4 separate regions of the Homo sapiens genome follow, and regions 1, 3 and 4 are each linked to region 2. The links are contacts of gene promoters, found by promoter capture Hi-C in blood cells and fetal thymus (Javierre and others, 2016). All regions are on one chromosome and are shown on one strand. The core of a region is centred on a gene start or on the middle of the fragment in contact, and the rest is flanking DNA. Distances in the headings are between cores, read along the strand shown. Region 1 overlaps PAAF1 (proteasomal ATPase associated factor 1). Region 2 holds the start of RAB6A (RAB6A, member RAS oncogene family). Region 3 overlaps PAAF1 (proteasomal ATPase associated factor 1). Region 4 has its middle 4.1 kb from the start of DNAJB13.

The links. The method cuts DNA at HindIII sites, captures the fragments that hold promoters and counts their contacts. A CHiCAGO score of 5 or more calls a contact.
Region 1: a contact is called between a fragment that was not itself captured here and the fragment with the promoter of RAB6A in region 2, in 1 of 17 cell types (M2 macrophages). The highest score is 7.9, in M2 macrophages.
Region 3: a contact is called between a fragment that was not itself captured here and the fragment with the promoter of RAB6A in region 2, in 1 of 17 cell types (M2 macrophages). The highest score is 7.4, in M2 macrophages.
Region 4: a fragment that was not itself captured here is called in contact with the fragment with the promoter of RAB6A in region 2 in 1 of 17 cell types (M2 macrophages); the score reaches 5.0 in M2 macrophages.

What each region holds. Positions count from the first base shown.
Region 1 is chr11:73,902,066-73,905,526 of GRCh38, forward strand. All of the region lies in intron 6 of PAAF1 (proteasomal ATPase associated factor 1), which reads left to right. Among named protein-coding and RNA genes, the nearest start is that of PAAF1, 27 kb to the left of the region's middle. The HindIII fragment of the contact is 1,319 bases long and covers 959-2,277 here.
Region 2 is chr11:73,759,691-73,763,101 of GRCh38, forward strand. It overlaps RAB6A (RAB6A, member RAS oncogene family), which reads right to left and starts at 1,384. Exons shown (of 8, transcript NM_198896.2): 1 at 876-1,384. The coding sequence starts at 945. It overlaps LOC124902711 (a long non-coding RNA gene), which reads left to right and starts at 1,468. Exons shown (of 2, transcript XR_007062775.1): 1 at 1,468-1,550; 2 at 2,047-3,410. RefSeq lists an enhancer at 535-1,035 and silencers at 1,332-1,641, 1,802-1,991. The HindIII fragment of the contact is 8,881 bases long and covers 1-2,101 here.
Region 3 is chr11:73,923,702-73,926,964 of GRCh38, forward strand. PAAF1 (proteasomal ATPase associated factor 1) reads left to right here. Exons shown (of 12, transcript NM_025155.3): 11 at 914-996. Among named protein-coding and RNA genes, the nearest start is that of DNAJB13, 26 kb to the right of the region's middle. RefSeq lists an enhancer at 2,701-3,200. The HindIII fragment of the contact is 5,817 bases long and covers 1-3,263 here.
Region 4 is chr11:73,945,285-73,948,612 of GRCh38, forward strand. No RefSeq gene overlaps it. Among named protein-coding and RNA genes, the nearest start is that of DNAJB13, 4.1 kb to the right of the region's middle. The HindIII fragment of the contact is 2,278 bases long and covers 266-2,543 here.

The DNA.
Region 1 (3,461 bases), core at 368-2,867, 140 kb after region 2:
TGTTGGCTGGGCTGGTCTTAAACTGGCCTCAAGTGATCTGCCTACCTTGGCCTCCCAAAGTGCTGGGATTACAGGTATGAGCCACTGCGCCTGGCCCAAGTTTTAAGTTTTAATATTTCTTTATAACATTTTGCCAGATTACATGCTGATGTTTTAGCAAACACACACATTAACCTAAGTACATAAATGGTTTACTTCCATGATGTAAGAAAACGGGTACATTGAGAGGGAATAGAAACAATATTCAGAGCCTTCCTTACATTACTGAAGAACTCATCACCTCCTGAAGAACTGAGAGATTGAAGGAGTCAGAATGGCCTACAGATCTGGGGAGTCCAGGAGCCAAAGTAGTCTAGAGGAACAGTGCAAGCTTCACCTCCGATCTGGCCATCCCTCTGAAGGTGTGGGCACAGGAAAACATTTCAGTGGAACAAGTCATGACTCAGCATGTTGAACTTAATTAACAAGATGCATATTCAACATCAGTGCACATCCAGTTTATAAATACCTTTGGATCACTGCAATTATTGTTCCCTTTACAGAATCCTAAGTCTCCCAACATTCCTTAATTCTCCCTAAGAATATGTATGGACCTTTAGCTTAGAGTAAATAGTAGAATGTTATTTATTTATTTATTATTATTTTTTTTGAGATGGAGTCTCACTCTGTCTCCTAGGCTGGGGTGCAGTGGCGCGATCTTGGCTCACTGCAACCTCTGCCTCCTTGGTTCAAGCAATTCTCCTGCCGCAGCCTCCCCAGTAACTGGGATTACAGGCATGCGCCACCATGCCCGGCTAATTTTTTTTTGTATTTTTAGTAGAGACTGGGTTTCACCATATTGGCCAGGCTGGTCTCAAACTCCTGACCTTGTGATCGCCTGCCGTGGCCTCCCAAAGTGCCGGGATTACAGGCGTGAGCCACTGCGCCCGGCCTAGAATGTTAAATCAATTTAGATATAAGCTTTTATTCATGTAGTTGTTCCATTCTTTTGGCCTTGTGAGAAAGTCCTGGGGTAGAGTAGTGCCTTCTGCAGAGTATAACAGCCCTGACTTTTTTCTTGAGAAGGGAGTTTTTAGTAGATTGAACGGAATGATATACTTTAGAAGAAATGACATGAAGTCAGATCCAGGCTGGCCTCTTATCAGGTCACAAAGGCTCCTTTCCAGTTCGTTGAATAAAGTAGCCCCAGGTTTGGGGTTGCCCATTCTTCCACAGCGTGGCAAAAATCAGGATTGATCTCTGATAGCTTAACAGCGTATATATAGATAGATCTGATAGCTTAGCAACCTATAGATTGACCGATCATCACTGTCTCCAACCAAATGACTTCCAAGTTGCTTTGTGTGACTTAAAAAGAAAAAAAATCTTGGTCCGGGCACTGTGGCTCATGCCTGTAATCCTAGCACTTTGGGAGGCCGAGGCGGGTGGATCATCTGAGGTCAGGAGTTCAAGACCAGCCTGGCCAACATGGTGAAACCCAGTCTCTACTAAAAATACAAAAATGAGCTGGGTGTGGTGGCTGGAGCCTGTAATCCTAGCTACTTGGGAGTCTGAGGCAGGAGAATCGCTTGAACTCAGGAGGCAGAGGTTGCAGTGAGCTGAGATCACACCATTGCACTCCAGCCTGGCCAACAAATGAAACTCTGTCTTCAAAAAAAAAAAAAATCTCTTATGAGATTTTGAAGCATTTTGTTCAGAGCCATGAACCCATATAAAAAGAAACATTAAAAAAAATTGGCCGGGCGCAGCGTCTCACCCCTGTAATCCCAGTACTTTGGGAGGCCGAGGTGGGAGGATCACCTGAGGTCAGGAGTTCAAAACCAGCCTGGCAAACATGGTAAAACCCTGTCTCTACAAAAAATACAAAAATTAGCCAGGTGTAGTGGTGTGCGCCTGTAATCCCAGCTACTTGGAAAGCTGAGGCAGGAGAATCACTTGAACCTGGGAGGCAGAGGTTGCATTGAGCCAAGATTGCACTACTTCACTCCAGCCTGGGCAACAGAGCGAGACTCCGTCTCAAAAAAAAAAAAAGTATATATATATACATAAATTGGTCCCCCAATTGTGTGTGTGTGTGTATTTAAATATATATAACTAAAGGATTAGTTTGTTCTCTACTTAATTAACAAGCAGAGGTAAGGTTTCTGTGTATGCTGAATTTTTCAAGTGGAAAGGTAGACTAAAAGTAGTTTTGTGATTGTAACATATGAGTTCAATAAGTAATTCTAAAATGCACTTTAATCAGTTTGAAGTTAAATTGCCCAGGCCATTTAAGTAAGCTTGTGAAATTTGGGGATATACATTTATAATCCTAATTCTTTATAATAAGCATTACATCTTTCATAATCAGTGAAACATTGAGACCAAATTACACCCTATTTTAGTTAACTAGTTGGCTTTATTTTTATTTTTTTTCTCATAATGGTAGTGGAAATGCTTACATTTATAGAATAATTTTAAGAAACCAGGTTGCAGTATCAGCACTTGCGCCATTATTTTCCAAGTCTTAAATACTTTCTTAGAAATTGGCTATGCCGCCTCCAAGTAATAGGAGGTGCTTCAAGGCTTATTTTTTTTTCGGAGATCTGAGTCATAGCCATTAATTTTCCCATATACGCATGTATGTATATTGCTCCCTAGCAACATTAAAACAGCTTAATATGATAGAGAAACTAAATAAATACACTTGTTAAGAATATACACCTGGGAATATGAAATTTGCTTTATTTCTTACAAATATTTATTTCAGGAATAGTTTCATCTAATGTTATTCGTATTTCCAGACTTTGGCTGGGATGCTCGTATGTGATTCTGCTGAATCTTTTCTTGAAGGCAAATGCTTTTGTGTTCTGGTTTGTATGGTGAAGACTTGTATCTATTTGGTTTGATATCTAAAGCCTTTTCCAGCTGGGTGCAGTGGTGCATGTCTGTAATCCCAGCTATTTGGAAGGCAAAGGTAGGTAGATCTCTTGAGGCCAGGAGTTCAGGGCTGCAGTGTGATATAATTGTGCCTGTGAATAGCAATGGCACTCTAGTCTGGGCAATATAGTGAGATCCCATCTCAACAAAACAAAACAAAAATAACAGTAAAGCTTTTTGCAGCTTCTGGTAAGTCTTAGCTATGGCTGCTTCTCTTGGAAAGGCATTCTTGAAATTGCTGCTTTCTTTTTTTTTTTGAGACAGAATCTCACTCTGTTGCCCAGGCTGGTGTGCAGTGGCGTGATCTCAGCTCAGTGCAACCTCCGCCTCCTGGGTTCAAGTGATTCTTCTGCCTCAGCTTCCCAAGTAGCTGGGACTACAGGTACACGCCACCATGCCCGGCTAATTTTTGTATTTTTAGAAGAAACTGGGTTTCACCATATTGGCAAGGCTGGTCTCAAACTCCTGACCTTGTGATCCTCCCTCATTGGCCTCCCAAAGTGCTGGGATTACAGGCATGAGCTACCATGCCTAGCCAAAAT
Region 2 (3,411 bases), core at 134-2,633:
GTACCACCATGAGACTCAGACGCTGCTTCATGTTGAAAAGAGAAAAAGGGGAGGTGAGATGAGAAAAATTCCAAGTAAAATGATCATGACATAGCATCTGGCAGAGATTGAAAAATCATCAACATTGCCAAAAGAATTGTCAGTGATGAAAGTCAAGAGAACAAAATGAGGTTTTCCGACAAGCCACAGCCCCATCTAACCTAAGGGGCAAAAATCTCCACTGCCGACGCTACCCCTTTCACCCCCAACCACCCCATGCTCAAGTCGTCTCCAATTCAGATGTTTCCTCTATGGCCCAGACTAATTTCCCACCCAGGTGAAAATCATTTAATTTTTTCTACTACCACCCCTTCCCACCTTCCACGACATCAGCACTTCGCAGGGCCAAGCCTCTGGGGAAAACAACGCCCAGATCCCACCCTCCTTGGCCAAGGTTGAAGAGGGCCCGCTCTCGGGAGTGGGGCTTCCCTGAGTGGGCCTCACAGAGCTGAGGAACTGGGAAAAGAGCAAGGAATAAGGGTGGGGCTCAAGAAAGGGGGCCGGGGTACGGGCAATGACCGAGACCGGAGGAAGAAAGGGATGGACAAGAGGCTGGGCGGGGTGAGGTCTGGGGAGGGAGGGCAGATCGACCGGAGATGGCCGGACTGCGGGGAACGGAGCCGGGGAGTCGAGGATTGAAGAACCCGGGGAACAGGGTAAAAACTCGGCCACTGGCGAAGAGCCAGTGGCACCGGGGGGCACATCGGGAAGGGCTGCGGTGGCAACGAGCGCGGACGCGAGGCGGGCAGGGAGCCTCCGCGGACGGAAGGGCCGCACCGGGGGCGGTGCGGGGACGCTGCGGCCAGCTGCCAGGAGTAGGGGAGCCACGCACTCACCGCTTTGCTCCCCCAGGAACACCAGCTTGAATTTCCTCAGCGGATTCCCGAAGTCTCCGCCCGTGGACATTGTGGAACTAGAGGAGCGGCCGCCGCCTCAGCCTAGAGACCTCCCGGACCGATGCTGCTCCAGCCAGCTGACGAAAAAGGCGAGCGGAAGGGCGGGCACCGAGCTCTCTCGGCCCCTGCAAGGCCCGGTGGAGGAGCCCGGCTGGAGGGCAGCAGGACTCTCCACAGACTGGCAGCCGCCGCCGCCTCCCGGCAGAGTAGCCTAGCACCGAGCGAGGCCCGCGGCTGGGAAGGGAAGGAGGGCGGTGTCGGCAGGAGCCAGGGGTGTCCTCTGGCTTCCCAAAGCTAGGGCCGTTCCCTCCTTCCGCACTCGGCTCCCAGACCTGGGGAAGAGAAGCTGAGGGTGGCGGAGCCGGAACCGCAGACGTATCTGGGACCTCTCACGCGCAGCGCCTGAGCTTCCACAGCTGCCGCCGCCGCCGCAGCCCAACCTGCTGAGTGCGCGAGCCTCTGGAGCGGCGCGGGGCGAGCCCGGGCGCGAGCCTGCGGCCCCGCCGGCCGCTGGCGTGCGTGCGTGCGTGCATGCGTGCGCGCCACCGCCATCGCCATCGCCTTCCTGGTTTGGACAGCTCTACCGGCTCCTCCCGCACGGCGGCGACGGGGCAGGTTAGGTTTCCACTGGCGTCAAAAGAAGCCAGGAGGAGGCGGGGCAAGCCAGGGATAAGTTAGTGGGAGGCTGGAGCCCTTACGTCACTTACATAATGAGCCAATCGGAAGGGGCTGAGGGCGAGCCCACACGCGAGTGAGGTGGCAGCGTGAGAGCGCGCGCAGCCCTCGAGCTGTGGAAAGCGGAGCACTGTGGCGGCCATAAGAAGTGTGGCGCCTCTCAGCCTGAGGGGAGGGGAAGGAAAGAAAGGGGAGGGGGAGAAGGGTGGGGCGGAGGCGGGGCCGGGACAAAGGTGGAATATGATCCCCCAAAAAGTGTGGGTGGGGTCCTATAGCCTTAAAATTTGTAATGGGAGCCTCTTTCCTGAGCCCTCAGCCGTGCCTCACAGTCCTCAGATCCCTTCTTCACCATTGCACACACCCCACCTTCTCCATCCTCTCATCATAATTCCTCACAGGCATCTTACTAAATAACATTCTCCTCCATTGCTCCCAGGAATGTTATAACTGCCAGAATCATGGCCTCCCAATTTTGCAGATGAGGAAACTGAAGCTTAGAGGGAGTAAATGACTTGCAAAATCCATAAAGCGGGCTGGGCGCGGTGGCCCACGGCTGTAATCCCAGCACTTTGGGAGGCGGAGGCGAGTGGATCACGAGGTCAAGAGATCGAGACCATCCTGGCCAACATGGTGAAACCCTGTCTCTACTAAAAATGCAAAAATTAGCTGGGGGTGGTGGCGCGCGCCTGTAGTCCCAGCTACTCGGGAAGCTGAGGCAGGAGAATCGCTTGAACCCGGGAGGCGGAGGTTGCAGTGAGCCGAGATCACACCACTGCACTCCAGCCTGGCGACAGAGCGAGACTCCATCTCAACAGAAAAAAAAAAAAAAAAAAAAAAAAAAAGCCGGGCGTGGTGGCTCATCCCTGTAATCCCAGCACTTTGGAAGGCTGAGTTGGGTGGATCACCTGACGTCAGGAGTTCCAGACCAGCCTTGGCCAACATGATGAAACCCCATCTCTACTAAAAATACAAAAAATTAACGTGGTGTGGTGGCGGGTGCCTGTAATCCCAGCTACTTGGGAGGCTGAGGCAGGAGAATCGCTTGAACACGGGAGGCGGAGGTTGCAGTGAGCCAAGGTCACACCATTGCACTCCAGTCTGGGCAACAAGAGCGAGACTCTGTCTCCAAAAAAAAAAATCCATAAAGCAGCTGGGCGCGGTGGCTCACGTCTGTAATCCCAGCACTTTGGGAGGCCGAGGCGGTAGAATCGCTTGAGCCCAGGAGTTCGAGACCAGGCTGGGCAACAAAGCAAGACACTATCTCTACAAAAAATAAAATAGCCGAATATCGTGGTGTGCTCCTGTAGTTCCGGCTACTCAGGAGCCTGAAGCAGAAGGATTGCTTGAGTCCAGGAGTTGGAGGCTGAGGTATGGCACCACTACACTGAAATCTGGGTGACAGAACAAGTCCCTGTCTTAAAAAAAAAAAAAAAAAACAAAAAAACTTTCTAAGTGAATAATAAAAAATATGTCCTTACATTTGTGTCTATACACAAATGTATATCATTTGTGTATATCATTCACAAAACATTTATGTACTTTTTCTCATTATTGGGGAGTTATTTGCTTAGCTGTAGAAATGACAGGATTGAAAAAGTGCCTTCTCAGGCCCAGGGATGAATTGCTGACCTAGAATAAATTACAGGGAAGAACCAAAGTTCTTAAAATATCATCTATTCTGGCCTATCAAGACAACAGCTATATCCTCAAACCATCTCTATCAAAATTTACTCCCTTCTGGTTCCTCTCCCAGCCATGTGCAGGTAGAACATGCATCTAAAATAAAATGGTAAAAACCTGG
Region 3 (3,263 bases), core at 354-2,853, 160 kb after region 2:
ATTTTTTTTGTATTTTTACTACTTTTATATTAACAAAAAGAAATCACCTTATTAAGCAGTTTATAGATCACCCCTATGATTCATTTGTTTCATTTGTCCATGCTCTTTTAAGAATTAGATACACTTTTACTTTCTTAGTGTAACTGTCCTCTTTCTCCTAGTGTATACAGTCAAATTTACAGATTGAGGAATAATCTGGGAACATTTTAATAGGGAATATCTACACAAATGTTTCTTTAAAAAATGTTAAAGACATTTTTTAGACATTCCCTATTAAATATAATCTAGGATAAGTTTATAAATACACACACACACACACACACACACCTGTGGTTGCTTGCTCTGTGCCTTTGGCAGGCATTGCTAATCAAAGACATCTCTTTTTCCCACAGAACTTGCACTTGCTCTTCAAATCCAGCCCAGCTCAGCATTCTAGGCAGCCACTATAGATCATCATAATTGGCCCACATAGGCCGGGTATGGTGGCTCACGCTTGTAATCCCAGCACCTTGGGAGGCTGAGGCAGGTGGATCACCTGAGGTCAGGAGTTTGAGACCAGCCTGGCCAACATGGTGAAACCCCGTCTCTACAAAAATTAGCCAGGCGTGGTGGTGGGCACCTGTAATCCCAGCTGCTTGGGAGGCTGAGGCAGGAGAATTGCTTGAACCTGGGAGGTGGAGGTTGCAGTTTGCTGAGATCATGCCATTGTACTCTAGCCTGGGCAAAAAGAACGAAACTCTGTCTCAAAAAACAAAAAAAAAGTTGGCCCACGTAATAAGATCTATTTGCCATTCTGGGTCTTTGGACCATCTTCTTTACACTAGTGATCTACAGAAGCAAATAAAAATACTGAGTTTTTAAACTCTGGATGCAGTTTTCTCTTAGTTATATGAATTTTCTTTCTGCCTTTCAGGTGATGGAAGCTGTTTTATTGTCCAGCAAGACTTAGACTATGTCACTGAGCTCACTGGGGCTGACTGTGACCCTGTGTACAAGGTACAGGCCTGAGACGACACCAGACCTGGGTGATTCTCATGAGAGATCTAGGGCTTTTATGAGACTGAATCCAGATACCTTGTGGTCATTAGGGATGATAAAATAGTGCTTATTGTATAAGCAGTGTGGTAGGATGGCAAGAAATCAAGAGCTTAACTCAGAAGTGATTTCTGGGCCAGGCATGGTGGCTCACGCCTGTAATCCCAGTACTTTGGGAGGCCGAGACAGGTGGATCACTTGAGGTCAGGAGTTCAAGACCAGCCTGGCCAGCATGGTGAAACCCCGTCTCTACTAAAAATACAAAAAAATTAGCTGGGCGTGGTGGTACATGCCTGTAGTTCCAGTTACTTGGGAGGCTGAGGCAGGAGAATCGCTTGAACCTGGGAGGTGGAGGCTGCAGTGAGCCTCAAGATCGTACCACTACACTCCAGCCTGGGCAACAGAGTGAGACTCCATCTCAAAAAAAAAAAAAAAAAAACAAGTGACTTCTGGCTGACAGCTGTAACCCCAGCACTTTTGGAGGCTGAAGCAGGTGGATCACTTGAGCCCAGGAGTTTGAAACCAGCCTAGGCAATAAGATGAGACCCCCGTCTCTACAAAAAATACAGAAAAATTAGCTGGGCATGGTGGCACACACACCTGTAGTCCCAGCTACTCATTTGGGAGGCCAAGATGGGACGATTGCTTGGGCCTGGGAAGTTGAGGCTGCAGTGAGCTGTGATTGTACCATTGCACTCTAGTCTGGGCAACAGAGTGAGACCCTGTCTCAAAAAAAAAAAAAAAAAGTGACTTCATCACTTACTAGCTCTAGAAACTTAAAAACTTACTTTACCTCACTAGTCTGTCAATTCATCTGTAAAGATAGTAATCTGAAAACTCTTTGTAAATACATTCTATAAATATTATTCATTCTTATTATTATTAAGACTTCTAGACTGATTTTTTCATTTGATTCAAATAGAGAAAAACAAAAGGGGAATATTTATTGACCAGACACTGTGCTGAACGTTTTATATACGTTATCTCATGTAATCTTTGTTACTATTTGTTGAGGTGTAGGTATTACTATTCCTATTTTTTCCTATAATTTAAAAAAAGTTGTACAATTAATATCTGTAAAAGTTCAAACAATACAGAATGATACAGATTTAAAAGTCTCCTTTACGACCTTTTTGGTTCCCTTTCTCTTTTCCAGAAGTAACTAGCATTAAAAGTTTGGCACATATTTTTCAAGACTATTTTCAGAGAATTTGCACACTTACATCTTTATGTATTAATGTAAATAATATACTTTTATCTTCAGTTTGTACGTAATTGAGACTATCTCTATATATTGCCCTGTGACTTTTTTTTAATTACCATCTTAGAGCTGTTTCCAGGTAAATGCATATAGATCTATTTCTTTCTTTCTTTCTTTCTTTTTTTTGAGATGGAGTTTCGCTCTTGTTGCCCAGGCTGGAGTGCAATGGCGCGATCTCAGCCCACAGCAACCTCCGCCTCCCAGGTTCAAGCGATTCTCCTGCCTCAGCCTCTCGAGCAGCTGGGATTACAGGCATGCGCCACCACACCCGGCTAATTTTGTATTTTTAGTAGAGACGAGGTTTCTCCATGTTGGTCAGGCTGGTCTTGAACTCCCGACTGAGGCCTGCCTCAGCCTCCCAAAGTGCTCGGATTACAGGCGTGAGCCACCGCGCCCAGCCATCTATTTCATTTTTAAAAATTCTTGCGTAGTGTTCCGGCCGGGCGTGGTGGCTCATGCCCAGCACTTTGGGAGGCGGAGGGGGTGCGAATCACGAGGTCAGGAGATTGAGACCATCCTGGCCAACACGGTGAAACCCTGTCTCTACTAACAATACAAAAAATTAGCCAGGCGTGGTGGTGGGTGTGTGTAGTCCCAGCTACTTGGGAGGCTGAGGCAGGAGAATGGCGTGAACCCGGGAGGCGGAGCTTGCAGTGAGCCAAGATGGCGTCACTGCACTCCAGCCTGAGCGACGGAGCAAGAGTCTGTCTCAAAAAACAAACAAACAAAATTCTTGTGTAGTGTTCCATATTTTGAATCAACACATTTCCATTGTACAAATGAGGCAACTGGGGCCTGGGGGGTTGAGAAAGTTGCCCTAGGTCATGCAGCTAGTTGGTAGTAAAGCTGAGACTAACTCCAGAATTCATGCTGTTTTCCTTGAGGAGTTGATGAAATCCTCCTCAGAAAAAAAGACACATATTCAGAACATTTTTGCATCCAATTTTATAAGGTTCAAGAATAGTCA
Region 4 (3,328 bases), core at 155-2,654, 190 kb after region 2:
ACTGGTAGTAACCTTTGCCTGTTGATTTCCTTTTTTACATTCCTTTTTTGTGTGTCCAAATTGCCCACAATTAAAACAAGAACCCGAGAAACGAGGCATATTTTTTCCGGCTTTTAATCCAGCCATAGCCTGAGCTAAAAGAGTAGCCTCATGTAAGTTACCCCCAATGCCATCACAAGCCTTAATATACTCAGCCAAATGAGGCTTCCCTCTCCTAGGTCGAATAGCAGTTTGACATTCTGCATTGGCATTATCGTATGCAAGAAGCTTTATTACAACATCTTGAGGTTGTTTTGTCAGTTATGGCTTTATACACAGCCTCCTGGAGCCGAGCAATAAAATCAGTATATGGTTCCTTGTCAGACAGAACTGAAAGATGGATATTTTTCCTCTATAACATTTATTCTTTCCCATGCCCTTAAGCATACAGAGCATAACTGAGCAATGGCAACATCCTCCATTAATGCTTGATTGTCTAATCGACCCCTGTTAGGGCTGACCCCCATTAACTGTTCAGAGGACACAGGCACAGGCGGCTGTGCCTGTGTGTTTTCTCTTGCCTGAGTTTGAGCTTCATTAGCCCACCAAGTTTTAAATTGCAAGTACTGAGACAGAGTGAGAACAGATTTTGTTAAAGTATCCCAATCATATGGTACTAACCTATTATCAAGAGCCACATTTTTTAGTAAAGTTCACACAAAAGGAGAATTTGGCCCATATTGACTAATGGCTTGCTTGAATTCTTTTAATAACTTAAAAGGAAAAGTGGCCCAATTAGCTGTATTCTGTCCTCCTTGTTGGGTTATAGTAACTGGAAATTGCCATGCTTCAAGGTGTCCTTCAGCTCTAGCCTTCTGAATAGAATTTTGTATAGCACCACCAGTTGCTTCAGATTTTAATGTTGTCACTACAGGAGCAGTAATTTTTACAGCTGCTTCACTTTCTCACCCATTGTGGGAGAGGGAGGAGGTGGCCATTCACTTAATTCAGCAGGCGGAGCTGATGGACCAGTAAAATATGTCTTTTTCAGCTTTCCTTTCTTTTCTATGATTTCCTCCGGCTCCTGTGCCTCGCGTTCAGAATCTGATGTTAGTTTCTTACACTCATCCTCCTCTTCTTCATCTGAATCTGCCTCATCATCTGTTTGAAATGGCTCAGGAGCTGCCTTTATTAACGCCCACACTGACCAAACAGAAACTGGAATTTTGGCTCCATCTTTATATGCCTTTTTAAAATCTCTGCCAGTTCTTTCCCATTCATCCAACTCCATAGTCCCTTGTTCCGGAAGCCATGGGCAGAACTGCTCTACTGTGCTGAAAAGTGTTAATAGACTTTGAGTACTAACTTTCACTCCCCCTCTCCGTAATAAATGCCTTAAGAAATTTAAATAAGCAGAATATTTGCTTTCATTCTGTCCCATTGTTACCCTGGTTCTTCCAAGCGTCCAGCTTACCTGCCGAGCTTCTTTCAGTCATCCTCTGGTGTCCTCTGACAATTGTCCTCTGCTTCCGCATGCTCTAGCGTTCCTTCACAGGGGTTTTCGTTGCCCCACATTGGGTGCCAGAAATGTTGGAGTGATCAGACCCAACACCAGGCTGTGGGGGCTACAAAGTCTGGCAGAGTCGAAGGAATGAGACAAGACAAGAATGCATAAAGTGGGTCCAGGGGGCCAACACCAGTATGGCAGCTGCGAAGGCCCTGAGCTCTGGGAGCCCACGCTCTTTATTGGTGATCAAACAGAAGCAGGTGGTGAGGACGTGAGGACATGGGGTTAGAAAGGAAGCGGTGCATCAAGCGTTTGACCTATAGCTGTGGCAGTTTAGCATTTTCTTTTAAGCATATGGAGTATGCTCTGCTACTCGAGATAATGGAGAACGTGTTTTTCTATCTCAAGATAACAATCAATTTACAAACCTGGGACAGCAAGAAGCAAGGAGCCAGCAAGTCTGGACACATTCCAGAGGCCACAAGGGGTTTTATTCCCTGAGCCCTGGATTGCATCCAAGCCACGAGGGGTTTTATGCCCTGGGCTTAGATTGTGGTGTGGCAGGGCAGCCTTCCACCCTTTGGCACAGAGCTTGGTGTTCCAAAGGCCACGAGGGGTTTTAGACCCTGGACCCAGGACATGTTCCAAGACTCTCTTACGTTATGTCAGACAAGCAAGACTTGCCTCAGCTCTTCTAGCAACACATTGCCCCAGTGATAGACCAATGGACAGTAGTTCCAGACACCAACCCATGCATATGTGGAAATTTCATATCTAACACAGCAGTCAGTACAGATCGGTGGGAAGACAATGGACAATTAAATAAATGATCTGAGCAGTTGGATATCTTTCAGAAAAGATACTATCTTGCTCCATATACAAAAAAATAAACTCTAGGTGTGTTAAATATTTAAATGTGAAATGGACTTTCGGAAGATCATATAGGTGAAGATCTTTATGCCCTCACATAAGGAAATATTTCTTAAACTAGACACACACAAAACGTGTAACCAGAAAGGAAAAGATTGATACATTTGACTTTTAAAAAGGTGAAAAAAGCTTCAAGTTGAAGAAAGGATTCGTATTTCATATTATCAACAAAGAGTTTGTTTTCAAAAAACATAAAAAGCCACTAGTCAGTTTTTTTTTTTTTTTTTTTTTTTGAGACGGAGTTTCGTTCTTGTTGCCCAGGCTGGAGTGAAGTGGCACAATCTCTGCTCACCGCAACCTCTGCCTCCCAGGTTCAAGCTATTCTTCTGCCTCAGCCTCCCAAGTAGCTGGGATTACAGGCATGCGCCACCATGTCCAGCTAATTTTGTATTTTTAGTAGAGATGGGGTTTCTCCATGTTGGTCAGGCTGGTCTTGTACTCCTGACCTCAGGTGATCCATCCACCTCGGCCTCCCCAAGTGCTGGGATTACAGGCATGAGCCACTATGCCCGGCCTGTCAGTTTGTAAAAAGGATAGTCAAATAGAAAAAAATGGGCAAAAACATAAATAGGTGTTTCACAATGAGGAAAAACAAATGGCCAATAAGTATGAAAAGATACTCAACCAAGAAATGCAAATTAAAATCCACAATGAGATGCCACTTTATGCCTACTATATTGGCAAACGTTTTAAAACTTGACATCAAGAGTTGGTGAGGGCCAGGAGTGTTGGCTCATGTCCATAATCCCAGCACTTTGGGAAGCTGAGATGGAAGGATCACTTGAGCCCATGAGTTCAAGACCTGTTTGCACAATATGGCAAGACCTCGTCTCTACAAAAAATTTAAAAATTAGCCTGATGTGGTGGTGTGTGCCTGGGTTTCCAGCTACTTGCGAGGCTGAGGCAGGAGGA